2 separate regions of the Homo sapiens genome follow, and region 2 is linked to region 1. Evidence: promoter capture Hi-C in 16 types of primary human blood cells and fetal thymus (Javierre and others, 2016). All regions are on one chromosome and are shown on one strand. Each heading gives the region's core, a stretch centred on a gene start or on the middle of the fragment in contact. The rest is flanking DNA. Distances are from core to core; before and after follow the strand shown. Region 1 holds the start of APEX2 (apurinic/apyrimidinic endodeoxyribonuclease 2). Region 2 holds the start of KLF8 (KLF transcription factor 8).

The links. Contacts are between HindIII fragments. The CHiCAGO score rates a contact against its expected background, and 5 or more counts as called.
Region 2: a fragment that was not itself captured here is called in contact with the fragment with the promoter of APEX2 in region 1 in 1 of 17 cell types (M2 macrophages); the score reaches 5.5 in M2 macrophages.

What each region holds. Positions count from the first base shown.
Region 1 is chrX:54,997,366-55,004,141 of GRCh38, reverse strand. It overlaps APEX2 (apurinic/apyrimidinic endodeoxyribonuclease 2), which reads right to left and starts at 3,779. Exons shown (of 6, transcript NM_014481.4): 1 at 3,563-3,779; 2 at 2,513-2,596; 3 at 1,711-1,891; 4 at 1,034-1,180; 5 at 274-343. The coding sequence starts at 3,719. It also overlaps a transcript of PFKFB1 not described here. RefSeq lists a silencer at 3,759-3,898. The HindIII fragment of the contact is 4,396 bases long and covers 3,064-6,776 here.
Region 2 is chrX:56,226,803-56,233,578 of GRCh38, reverse strand. It overlaps KLF8 (KLF transcription factor 8), which reads right to left and starts at 1,223. Exons shown (of 6, transcript NM_007250.5): 1 at 238-1,223. The coding sequence starts at 244. The HindIII fragment of the contact is 2,049 bases long and covers 3,096-5,144 here.

The DNA.
Region 1 (6,776 bases), core at 2,530-5,029:
TCTGTAGCCCACCACCATGCTGGAGAGCTCCTAGGAGCCAAGGGCTGGATCTGACTCCTGAGTCCTCAGTATGTGGCTCAGGGCCAGGCCATGGGCAGAGTCAGTATTGTCTATTGAATGAATGACCAATCCTCAGTACTATAAGAATAGTATTGCAAGCCAAGCTCCGCTTTCCCATAAAGGAAGCTGTCCCTGGGCCAAAAACTCAGGGTTGGTTGGCTGGACAAACAGAATCAGTCAGGAGTGGGGCCAGGCACCTAGAGGGAGCCTTACCAGGTTGACTGCATCCCAGTGGTCAATGGGGCGGTGGGCTGTATTCAGGTCACCCAGAATGATCACATGGCTGAAAAACACAATGTGGGATTGTTAGAAAGGGGTGCAGCAGTCCTGGCCCATATACTTTTTCCTGGGCCCAAGAGCTCAGACAGGCCCTCTCCCATATTGAGGCTTCCTAGCCAACAGCAACTCATAACAGCCTACCTCTCCAATCTTACCACAAACTTGCTGCCTTTCATATCTGACCAACCCAATTCTGATCTCCAAAGGTGACAGTGTTCCATGTTTGACATGACTGCCTCACTAATCAGGAGCCAATGGGCATTTTTCTTGTCCTTCAAAGCTGAGCTCAGATACCACCTCCCCTTGATTGCTCTAACCCACCCTCACTTTCCTGTCCTCCGCTGGAACAAGACTTTCCTTTGCTCCCACGCACTTTACCATTCTCATCTCATTTTACCCTTAAAACTATTGTGTAGGGTAGAGATTCATATATTCATTTGACAAAAGAGAAAACAGAGGCAAGACTAGCCCTAGGGCTCACAATGAGTAAGAGCAGGAGCCTGAATAGGTGCTCAGAGTACAAAACCCATGTTTGTTTTGAGCAGAGCCTATTCAGGTGGGCATATTGGTGTTTGCAACTATGCTGTGAAAGAACTCAGAGACAAAGGGTCCATATCCCTTTCAATGGAGCTTGACACAGGGCTGGGCACCCAGGACCAACTCAAGGAAGCCTTACTGCCCAGGCTTGCAGTACCTGCCTGCCGCCAGGAGGGCTTCTGCTCGGATTTGCAGCAAACGATAGAAGCGCATCTTAAAGACTAGCCGCTCAGGCCTCCCAGGGTCCGCATGGGGGCAGTACACGTTGATTAGGGTCAAGGTCTTCTCCTTACCTTCCCATGTGCTGGAGAAAAGAGAAACCCCCAAAAGGGGTCAGTTTCAAACCTCCCCTTCTGTCCCTTCCCCATACCACATGGCTTCCATTTTGTGACTGTCTGGGATGGAAAAGAAAGGGGTTAAAGAGACACAAATGATCTGGCATGCACAGGACTTGGGGACTGACTACTGATAAGGCAGGGAGAGGGATATCTAAGGATTACCACCAGGTAATGGTGCTGCTATTCACACAGAACACCCAGAAAGACAGCAACCTGGGGCACTGAGTTCAGCACTAAGTTGCTTTTGAGATGTCTATGGTAATAAGAGCTGGATCACTAGGCCAGCCCCACATTGTAGAGATGGAAACTCAAGCTTCAGAGGGGGGAAAAATTTGCCAGGGTCACACACTGAGTAGCCCAGCCAGGACTAAACCAGGAAAGGCAAATTTGGGAACTTCTCCACGGTGCATGTATGTTTACATGGCAAGCCTTAGAATCTTCACACTCAAAGAGTAGCACCAGCAGTGCTCAGTAGCAGGGAGATATGAGCTATTACCGGATCTTATGCTGTGTGAGGAGGGCCCTGCCCTCACTATCCAGAGCCCGGAGTTCCTCTTGGGTAAACTCATCCATGTTTCCATAGCAACCAACATCCCCATTCTGGGTGGCAAACAGGCCACTCAGGCCTTCTTCAGCAGCCACTGGGGTAGCATTGTCCTTACAGAAGGTGGCTACACCTGGGAACAGACAGGGCACTCTGAGCAGACCTGGCAGTCAATAGCCTGTTGCACAGCCTGTCCCACTCCAATTGTCCCCACACAAGTCATCTAAGTCATCTTCATAAAGTGTGGTTCTTGGGCAACCTTATTCAAACCCTGGAGTCTCAGTTCCTACATCTAAAAAAGCCACAGAATGTTCTAAGTGTTTTACATTGATACATGGTGAGTGCTCAAGACGTATTAGCAATTATTATTATCACATGGATTAATTCATTTAATCCTTGTAACAGCCCCGGAAGGTAAACATTATCCTCATTTTCTAGCTGAGGAACCTGAGGCACCAAGAGGTAATGTAACTTGCCAGAGGGTGCACAGCTAGGAAATGAGCCATGATTCAAACCCAGGCTGTCTGGCTCCACAGTTCACACAATTAAGCACCACACTACTACTGTACTTCTGAGGTCCAGTAGGATAATTCTATCCATAAAAATTATATTTCATGTAATTTACTATTATGCAGCTTTAGCTCTGTAAACTAAATGTCTAAGATTTCTTATTACCCTCTCATCAAATATTGGAAACCCTTTTCCCCTATCTGCCTCCCTCACTAATTTAAAGTCCACAGAAAGCCCCATTTACCAGAATAGCCGCTACGGTTGCGGCTGAAGCTGAAATAGGAGTTATAACCCTCAACGATAGCCAGGGGCTCTGTCAGTGCATCCCCTGGAAAAAAAAAATGTAAGATTAAGTCAGAGGTAAAACTAGCATCCGAGAAACACAAAGGCCTGGAATTACAGTTGTAGGCTAATTCCTTGCACACATCAGAGCCAGAGTTGGGGGTGACGGGAATGAAATATCCATGATTAGAGGAGGACCTAGAAAGATGGGAAATGTCAGAGAGGAAATTGATATCAGAATTAGAAGGCTTGGTGGGGGGCGGTTAGAGACTATGAAGTGGAGGTGGAGAATTAGGTGGGAAGGGGAAAGAATCAGAGCTAAGCCTGGGGGTCTGAACGATAGGAGGAAGCTGGGGATGGGGATGGACATACGAGAGGATGGTGGGAATCTGAGCTAAGGGTGAGAGGTAAGAGAGAGGGAATTAGGGGATCTGAACTGGGGGTGGAGGGAAAAGGAATTAGGGGATTCTGAGGGGAGATAAGAGGGTGAAGAAATAAGAGGACATCTAAGCTTGGGGTGGGAAATGAGGTGGGAATTAGGGACTTTCCGCTGGGAGGAGAGATGGGAATAGATAAGGGGTACTGGGGTTCTGAGGTGGAAATGTGAAAAAGAGGAAATTAGACTGAGCTGGGGTCAAAGATGGGGTGGGAATTAGAGGATCTGAGCTTGGGGCAGGGATGAAGAATTCGGGGGTTTGACTTGGCGGCGGGGAGATGGACAGCGTATGGAAGGAGGAAATTCAGGGGACTGAGTTTGGGGCCGGAGAATGAGTGGGAATCTGACTAGATATGGGGTTTCGAGAAGGAGCTAAAGTTTGCTGAAGACAGGAGATGGAGTGCAATTAGGGGATCTAGCTAGGGTGGGAAATGGAAGTTTAAGAGGGAAGGGACCTGGGTCTAAGGACAGGACTCTAAGAATAGGAAACTGGGAAAGTAAAATTACATGGGACAGGGGACAAAAGTTAGCGGGAAAGAAAAAGTATGTAGGGATCCTGGAATCCAGAGCGCTCACTGGTCACTTTGGTTTCCTGGAGACAGACGATATCCGCATCCAGCTCGTCCAAAATGCGCCCCACGGCCACGGCGGCACAGTTGCTGGGTTCCTGATTTGCCACCCCTTGCAGGGGTCTCCGAATCCCATTGATGTTCCAGCTCACCACGCGCAACATCTTAAAGGGCTGGAACACCTCCCAGCCCGCGCCAACCTAGGCGCGAGCGAACTGCTTCCTGTTCAGAAGTTGGCCAGGCCCGCCTCCCGCGCGCGTTTGCGCAGGCGTTCTCGTGCGTACCACTAAAGCGCCTGACGCACGTCGGGCGGGGGCTTCAACTTCCTCAGCTCTCATTGGCGGGAGGAGGAACTGGGTGGACGCTGAAGGAAGCAAAGCGGAAGCCTAGGGGCAATGAATGGCGAGAGGAGTTTCCAGTTGGGCTCCCGCTCCTTCCGCTCGGACAGCTGAGTCTCAATGCGTTTTTCCTCTACTCAGAAGTCCAAGTGGTGCGTCCGGTTACTTACAAACGGCATTTTGCCACTTTTTAAGCGACGGAACCCTGAGCGGAACTGCTCAGCTGCCAAAGCCCCGCCCTCAGTGCGGCGGACCGCCCACCTAAGTTCACAGATGGCTGCAGCGCTTGCGCCCCAGGAATAGCTGGCGCTAAGTGCTCGCGTTGGACTGGGCAAAGGGAAGTTCATGGTTGGAGGAGGGAGCAGTAAGAGTCGCTCCACTGAGATAAGACTTAGGAGGAGGGCCTTTGGCTTTATTGGGGCAGAGGGGAGGAGGAGGAGGCTGTCTCAAGCCTGCCCTGTAGCTTTTGTCTTGGCTCTTAACATTCTGAAGGATGTAGCCGGACACATCCTTACTCTTGGTTCTGTTTCTCAGATAAGTGAAATCGAAGCCCAGGAAATGTAAGCTCGTGAGCAGCATTGTCTCCGGATGCATCCATGGCTCTTCTGTATATGTTATCTCATTTCATTCTCAAGACAACCCAGTTCGGGACATGGAGGCTAAGTTAGAGACGTCGAATGAATTCATTTCATTCTCACAGTTCACTCTCTCTTACACTGAAGTAGTAGAGCCAGGATTCACACCCTGTCTTAATTAGCTCAATAATTACTTTTCTGAGTGTTTTTACTGACCACACACCTCCCCAGTTAAGTCTTTTCCTCTGGGGCCCCACGGCACCCTATGGTCCATTCTGTCACAGTACTTATAATACACAGCTATCATTGACTTCTATTTCTGCTGCCATTAGAATGCCAGCAACTTGAGAGCAATGACCATGTCTGGTTCATCTTGTTAGCCCCATCCCCTAATACTGGACACAGCATATGTTGGGAAGCAATAGATATTTGTCAGGTGAATGAATGAACAAAGGATAATAGCAAGAGCATCGACAGGTTCATGGCTTGTTTTTGAGAGCACAAAAATTAGAAGTAATGGATATGCCCAATGTCCAGGGAAAAGCATAACGATGCATCTTTAGGTTCCTCACCCAGAATTGCAGCATAATTATTTGTTCCCCAGAATTTAAGTCTTAGAGCCATCATCCTCAATGGTTACAGCAAAGACGCAGTAAACTGCTTTTCCTCCTGGAGGACTTAAAAGGTTACCAGTTGTTGCTATCAGAAAATAGCTCTGTGATTAAAATAAAAATTTGCATGTCCTGAGCTTCTTCATGCTTTGGGAGTTATTGACTCAGGATTGACTCCCATGAGTGCGATAACTAGGACAAAGGAAATGAACATTTTTATTGCTCTTGCTTCATATTGCCAGATTGCTTTCCAGTAAGGGATTATGCCCATTTACACTGAAGATCGATCTGAAACTCAGCACCAGCGAAATCCAGAACTTGCCTGTCTCCATGGCTGGTTTTAATTTCCCCATTCTGCAGTGGCTTGTTAATATTAGTTCTGACCTTTGGGGCAAGGTGAACACATGGTTGGACTGAAGAGAAAAGGCTTCTGGTGGCTCAGGAACGTCTTTGGCAACTACAACAGCTGATATTTCAACAGAGCACATACATCCCCCACTTAACAAGGGTACGTCCTCAGCCTTCTCAGGGAACCAACGAACACCTCCAGGCTTCCTCTTTGATGCCACCCACTGGACCTGCCTTGGGGGTCTGTAAATGCAAGAGAACCGAGTGTTGGATAATTAGCGATGGAAGAAAAAACCTCTAGAATAAAAGGTAGGTGAGAAAGAAGGGAAAGTAGGCAGGAGTTGCACAAATCCACATCCATTCTTCAGGCCCTCTGGAAAGTTTTCTTTGCATAGATGGTTGGTTGTCGTGTGCATTAAAGGGCATGGGAAAGTGGGGGAAAAGATTATATCTATATGTAACCTATTTATCTGTCTGTATATTTTTAAAAGTCCATTCTGGCCTTTATGGGACACTGGCCCCCAGGGCAATTCACTAGCACCTGTGAAAGTCTCTCTAACTTGGTCAAGTCTGGTTTTGAATGAACTGAGTGATTGAGATTATAGCTCTTACCTCCCCACTGATGTGTAAAGTAGGGTTGATTTGCTGTGGCGCTTTGAACAAGCTCTCTTGCTTCTCTGGGCATCAGTAGCTTCCTCAGTAAAATGGAAATCAAAGTCTCTAGCCAACGTTCCTCAGAGGGCTGTCACGATCAAGAAGAGTGGAAAGGCAGAAACCAAAGCTCTTTGGAGACATTTCAGGACTTCCTCGCTCTAAGAGTAGTCATCTTGCTTTTTCTATAGGCTCCACAAGCAATCCCACCCAAAACCCTCCAGCTGCTGTGCGACTATAGTCTGTGGAGAGCCACTTCCATGACTAGGATTCAGTGAGGTTTGGGGCCCAGGCATGAGGCCGAAAATAGTGGAGAGATGGTGGGCCAGGACAGTGGGTGAGAAGGAAGGGGATCCTAGGCTGCTGTCACAGAAGGCCTGACACTCATATACATGCACCTAGCTTGTAAGTGTGTGGTCGATCTCCCCTCACACCTTCACTCTCCACAAATGCATTCATACCCAAACAGTCTGAGAGCTACCAATAGGGAGACCCCATTCGTGACTTTATTATCCATCAGCACTGTCATATGCTGCTTTACATGGTATTCTCCCCCGATACACATGCCCTATACTTTGGGAGGGGTATGGGGTCAGGATCTGGGGGCCTTGGGAAATCACATTGTAATCTTTTCTTCCCTAGAGATAGCCCCATTTTAGAATTTTAGACCAAGAGCTGCAGGTCAGAGCTTGATCTTG
Region 2 (6,776 bases), core at 2,871-5,370, 1.2 Mb before region 1:
CACTTCTTCCACCAAGCTCTCTCCTCTCCTTCTTGGCCTTTCTTTGCCCAGCCCTTTAGCAAAGTCATTTTCCCTTGAGTTTCATTTGATTCCACATAGTGTTCTTAACCTTCCGCTCCCGCCCCCACTGCTGAAACCCCAAGTGGGGTGTGTGGGGGGAGCAGGGGGACTGGGAGGGGGATAGAATCTAGACGAAAGAGGTGGGAGTGGGTGGGTATTAGTCCCAGAGTCACTTACCGACCATGTCACTAGCTGAGGACTCCTGAAGTGTCCAGAACTCATGCCGTCCTCCGGGAGGCTCATACTCCTGAGCTGATCGCAAGAGAGCTGTTCCCCTCACACCCGCCCCATTCTGACATAGCGCAGGGCGACGCGTTCTCGTCTTCTCGTTCTTGGGCCCCCACTCCCCTATTTCTCCGGGCTGGAAAATGAGGAGGGGGTCGAAAGGGGAGGGAGTCGATTCAGACCCAGCTGGGCCACTCTCGGAACAAGGGAAACAAAGCTCTCAAGCATCCAACCCAAAAATCAGGGGCCGGCAGAGTAGACTTCCTAAAAAGAATCCTCCCCCCTGCAGCTTTTCCTTGGACAAAAATAAAGTGGGTTCGCTGGGCCGAAGTGGCCAGAGCTTAAGGTCCTCCGTTCCCCTTTTACCTCTACCAATTCAGTTCCGGCCAAGCCCGCTCTCCACCCATCCTCTGAACTCCACACACCCTTTAAAAGGAGAGGGCCGGGGGTGGGGGCTATGAAAACCAACCCAACCCCCAAAGCGCTACTTGAACATAAAGTTGAGGCGGAGAAGAAATCCTTCAAGACAGGAACCCACGAGGAGATACCACAAGAGGATCCCTTCACCGCCGCCGTTGCCGCCGCACACCCCAGCGCCTTCCTAAAAAGAAAGAAGGGAGGAAAAAAATGCCGACGATTGGTAGAATCATAGAGAAGAACACCAGCCCCAGGGCAGGGGCTTCAGCGAAAAATGGCAGCAACTCGTGCGGGTCCTCTGGGGCGGGGTTTCTTGGAGGCACCTAGCTGCCCCACGGGGTACCTCGCGCCCCACGCGAGTCAGAACCTAAAGTGCTCTCTGGGCAACCTGAGTGGGTAGAGTGATTCCGTCTTTCTCTGGCCCTGCTAGGCCCAAAGGAGAGGTGTGACTATCGTGAGGACTCCACCTAGGGTGGAGTTCCTTAAAAAGGACAGGCGGCCGCTAGAGGAGAGTGCAAAGTGGGAGGAGGTGGAGAAGGGTGGGGCTGAGAAGGAGGAGGGAGGAAGGAGGGGGTGGGGCGGGGCCCTGGGCCGACAGAGCTGGCCTCGCCTCCGGCGGCCGCCTCCCTCAGCCTCCAGCAGCGGCAGGTATAATTCCAATCAATTTCACTTCCTTATCTGTCCCAAAATTAAGGCTTGCAAGCACACTGCTTGATTACCTATTTACTCCGGTTATGCTAATTCTCCAGGGGAGGGTGGTGAAACGGGTACTGGGATTGGGGCTGGGGGCTGTCTAAGAGGGAAAGGAGAAAACAAAAAAGCTGACAACTGGAAGCGATATTTATCCTCCTACCTCTCCATGGTAACACGAACAAGGACAGCGAGGTCACAGTGTCTTCTCAGGGAGGAAGCTAAAAGGAACGGAGATTGGAGCTTGGTGCATTTTCTAGCAAGAGATAAGCCAAGGAGGTGAGGGCGAAGGAGTAGGTGGGGAAGAAGAAGGAGTTGAAGATGATCTGTGAATACAGCGTGGCCCAGCAGGGAGACTTAAGAAAGGCTTTCTCAGTCTCCCAGATACCAGACCTCTAAGAATAGAGTTCTCAACCCCCTGAGACCGCCTCTCAGCCAGGCATTGGCGAAGATCCCCGTAAAGCTGAATCCACAGGATAGGAGCCATGTTTCCAGGATTTCTTTACGCTTGCCTGAAAGTCTCTCTCTAGCTCATTTTAATGGGAGGCCAGGAAGTCACAAGCAACCACAGCCCATTTTCAGTGCCTCTTCCCTACCACAATTCTTTTAAAGAGGAGGAAAAAGAAGAGAGACAAGAAACAAAGCAGAGGGAGGAAGAGCAAAGAGACAGGAGAAATAATAATATCTGCCATGTATTCAGCACCTAATATGGGCAAGTCCCTGAGCCAGGTGCTTTTACATTCAACATTTCCCCATTTAGTCCCAATAACAACCCTGGGAACTAGGTACTGTTATATTCTCTGTGCCCTTTATTTAAAAAAATAAGGAAACGGAAGGCCTCAGCCCAGTACTTTCGAACACATAGGTCTACTTACTTAGTTGATATTTCTGCCTGAATGTCTTCTGTGCATCTCATCTACCTTCCTTTCCCCAAAACACTCTGTTCTTCCTCCTGTAGTTCACCAACTACCTGAATGGCACCACCATACATCCAAGGCAGCACCCTGGAACTCATCCTTTAACCTGCTGTGATCTGGCCTTTGTCTGCCTCTCAAGCAGCAGAGATTTTGCTGTTCTCCTGGGCTTTACCTGGATTACAAATCCCTGGGAATTCCAAGCTGTTTCCAATCTCTATGCCTTGGGTTGCTTTACTTTCTCTGACTGAAATAGACTAAGCTCTCTGTCCACCTTTTTTTTTCTTGCATGTCCTTCCAATGAATCTGTCCACTTTCTTGAAAGGACTAACTCAAGGTCATCTCCCCTCCTTACTTAATTTCTTCAGGCAAAACTGACCATTGCTTCCTCTGTGCCCTTCTCTACCTCGGGGCACATATTTGTTGGTATAATTGCCTCCCCCTACTAAACTATAAAGTCCTTGAGCTGAAGCACCAGGCGATCTCATTTCTGTAACTTGGATGCCAAGTTATATTATTATTAACAATAATAATAGTTATTGAGCATTAACTATGTACTAAACTCTGTTGTAAGCCTCTTATGTATATTAACTCATTGAATCCTTCTGACAATCCTATGGGTAGACATTGCTATCCCCATTTTACAGATGTGGAAACTTAGTGACAGGTTAAATAAATACACATGCATATGTATTTGTTTCATAAAAGAATGTCCCTGTAGTAGGGGTTTCATAAATAACTCTCTATCTCACTATATCTCTTCACCACGACCTGCACCCCTGCCAAGCTTACAAGGTAAGATATATTGAGATGGAATCATACAGAGAAGTGTACAACTCTCTATGCCTTCATTTAAAAAATTTACTTTATTCCTTGGAGGCTTTGTTTCTCAATGTATAAAATTTGGGGAGTATTATCCAATATAGGATTCTTACCACTACAGCACTGTTTTGAGCAATGCTGAAAAGTTTTCTCTTAGATTCAAGTGTGTGAAAGACATTAAGCAGTTTATATCAATAATAAATGCATTTTTGTGATGTGCAGATGAAAATGAGTAGATTGCTGAAGTAACATTTTGAAAAGAGTAGCCACTACTAGCCCTGAATACAGTGGGTGTGCCTTAAGGTCATCGAGTTACTTTTTCAGTCTGAAATAGCTTTTCAAGAAGGTCGATCCATACACAGATAGCTTAACAGTTTATATTTTATTAAAAGTCTTTATTGTTGACAAATTTATTTTAAGCTCTAGCTTTTTGTTTGTTTTAGAAATACTGCCTCAACTTTATTTGTGGGGAAAACTTAGACCTTAGATGGCAAATTCAGTTTTTGGAAAACTTGAAGTTATTGAAACTTGGAAAAACAAACCCAAGATCCTTTCCCATCTGTTCTTTCATCTATTCAGTCAATAAAATGTATTGAGCACCTGTGCTTTATCAAGAACAATGCTAGGTGTTGGGGGGCGGTGGAATGAGAACATCCATTCTAAGAGGCTCCAGTGGATGAACCCTCAATTTCACTGTACGCACACAGCCTATTAGTCCACATTTCCCCTTCAAGTCCTTTAGAGATGGCCTCTGTCTCACTCAAATTAGGACCCAAAGATGGTTCACAGGGAACTATGAAACCCATGACCACAGTTAATGTCAAAGGCAGGAGTTTGCCTTTATATTCTTTTACTCTTGACACATAGAAATAATCAGCATGTGGTTGGTGTTGTCTATGTCACACGAAAGGGTGTGAGGGAGCAGGTATGGGGAACTAGAAGTTTTGATAAATTTCCCTGTCCGTCTAGGAAACACCTCAGGCTCTCCTTTCTTTAGCTGGCTAGAATAAACATGAACCAAATAGCAACCTGCGATATTTTCAACTCCTTCCATCCCACCTTATGCGTGAGGGAGACTGCTTGAAGAAGCAGCCTGTGCTTTCCTCTATATATCCAAGTAATCAGATGAGGAGTGTTAAATTAAGTGTGGAACCTAATGAAAAGCAGCTGAGAAATATGCAGACACGATTCTGGGCCCACATATGCTGTTCTTCCCTTCTTCTCTTTCTCCTCTTCATCATCCCGCTTCTCCTCCTCCTGAAAGCCAGCTGACAAACTACCAGGGTGGAGCCCAGTCTGAGGGCTGGAGGGAAGGGAGGAGGAAAAGCCTCAGTAAGAGGACTCCACCCTCTCTGCTCCCAGTAGAACAACAACAATAAAAAAAAGAAGGCTTGAGAAGCTGGGCCTGACAGGAAGGTGGGGCAGAATAGGGCAAAGTGAGGAAGGGTGGGTAGATGGGAGGGGAGTTAGGACCTCAGCTGGGTAAAGCTGGGCTGGGGAATGAAAGGGAAGTCAAGCAATATACAAACAGAAAAATCTGCATTCATTAAATCACTGTTGTTTGTGGAACAACAAAAATGTAGCTAAAACCAGGGCATAGTTCAGACCTAGTGGGAACAAAATTGTCCTCCTCACCCACTTTTCTTCTTATTCCACAGTTCCCCAGAGAGCATATTCCTTCTGCGAGCTCAGCTAGAAGGAGACCTTTTGCCCCTCCGCTAATGTTGAACCAGTGTTAAGTTCCTCACATGTCCCAGAGGACAGCACTAAGGTTACTGCCAGCAAAGGATAAAGATATTTTGGAGAAGGAAATCTAGTTAGCTGAGAGAAGAAAGCCTGGAAGGAGATTGCGGGGATAAAACAATGATTTAGATTGCAAACTGTGCAACCCTGGGCAAGTGCCTTCACATCTCTAAACATTTCCTCACCTATTTCTTTTAAAGATATTACTTCACAGAATTGTCAAAAAGATTAAATAAGATGCAGAGGTGGCTTTACAGTAAAATTAATGAAGCTTAAGCTTTACGCCCCTTTCCAAGACTCCAGAAGGGATCAAACATTGTGTTTTTCTTAAAGATGGTCCCCAAAGTGGTATAAGCTTCCAGCCCCACAAAACCTAGATTGGCCGCCAATGAGATTATAGCCTACAAAGCACAGTGTCTGGCACAAAGAAAGCTCTCAATAAAGGTTAACTAATATTCATAGCAATGGCAACTGTGAAAACTACCAGCTTTAGGTTGAGTCTCTTTCTGGTCATAGATATTGAGAACATGCTCCTGTGTTCCCCATAACCCTTGCCACTGTATGTATAAATAAACCAGTTTATAAAAATCAGCAACTAAACTGCTTGCTTGAGACATTCAGAGGCATGATTAAATTTGGTTTAGGAATGGCCAATGGGCCAGAAACATGTGGCCAGGGTTTGAAATTCTGGCACCGCACCATCCCAGACAAGCTCTAGCAGGCCTGCTGAGTCCTATAAATTTAGTTGTGCCTCAGGCTGCTATCTTTATGAGCAAGGAGCTTGACTAGGTGTGTGTGTGTGTGTGTGTGTGTGTGTGTGTGTGTGTGTGTGTTGGGGCTAGGGGGTTGAGTATGTATGGGTTTTTAACTCCATTTTAGACCCTAGATACCACCACACCCATAAATTGGAGGAGGGAAGAGGGAAGAGACTTTATAATCAACAATCAAGTCAAACCAGAAAAACTGCACCTGCAGAAAAGGGATAACATCCTTGGCCTTGTCCCCAAAGTGTATATTCCTGAGTCAGGGCAAGAGTCTATTGTGTATACAAGAAAAAGACTTGCAGGCTGGGCACCGTGGCTCACGCCTGTAATCCCAGCACTTTGTGAGGCCAAGGCGGATTCATCACGAGGTCAGGAGTTCGAGACCAGCCTGGCCAATATGGTGAAACCTGGTCTCTACTAAAAATACAAAAATTAGCCAGGCATGGTGGTGCACACCTGTAGTCCCAGCTACTCAGGAGGCAAAAGAATTGCTTGAACCCGGGAGGCGGAGGTTGCAGTGAGCTGAGGTCGCACCACTGCACTCCAGCCTGGGCCACAGAGTGAGACTCTGTCCAAAAAAAAAAAAAGAAAAAGACTTGAATTACTGCTTTAATATTAAACAAATAAATATATGAGATTGTCTAAGGAAATGCATAAATAGAACAGGAACTTTTTTATCACTGAGCTAATCCAGAGAGGCGCCAGGGCTCTGAAGGCCCCCAAAGGCAAGCTCATGCTTATCATCCTTGTGTTACTTACCACAAGCAGCTCTCACTTCCCCAACAGAGGGGTGGTATCCATCTTTCACTGTCCCCTAAGCCAACAGGAGATTGGCCTTCACCCTTCTTCCCATTGCAGTCTTATCACTTCCCTCAGAAAGTAAAAGGGAGAGAATAAAGAGGGTGGGGAGGATGTCTTTGGTGCTTTCTTAAAACCTTTCTGCCAATACACCTATTGAAGTACTGCAGCCTCATTTTTCATTTCCTCTGTCCTTTGTTTGCCCAAATGGCCTTGCATTGTGGTAGTCCTTTTCTCTCAAGTCAATACCACAAATATAGTTGGAGCAGTTTACCCTGGAGCCACAATAACAGGATATTCCCTTCTCAAGTCAGGCCAGCAGGGTATTTAAAAGAGTAAGCCA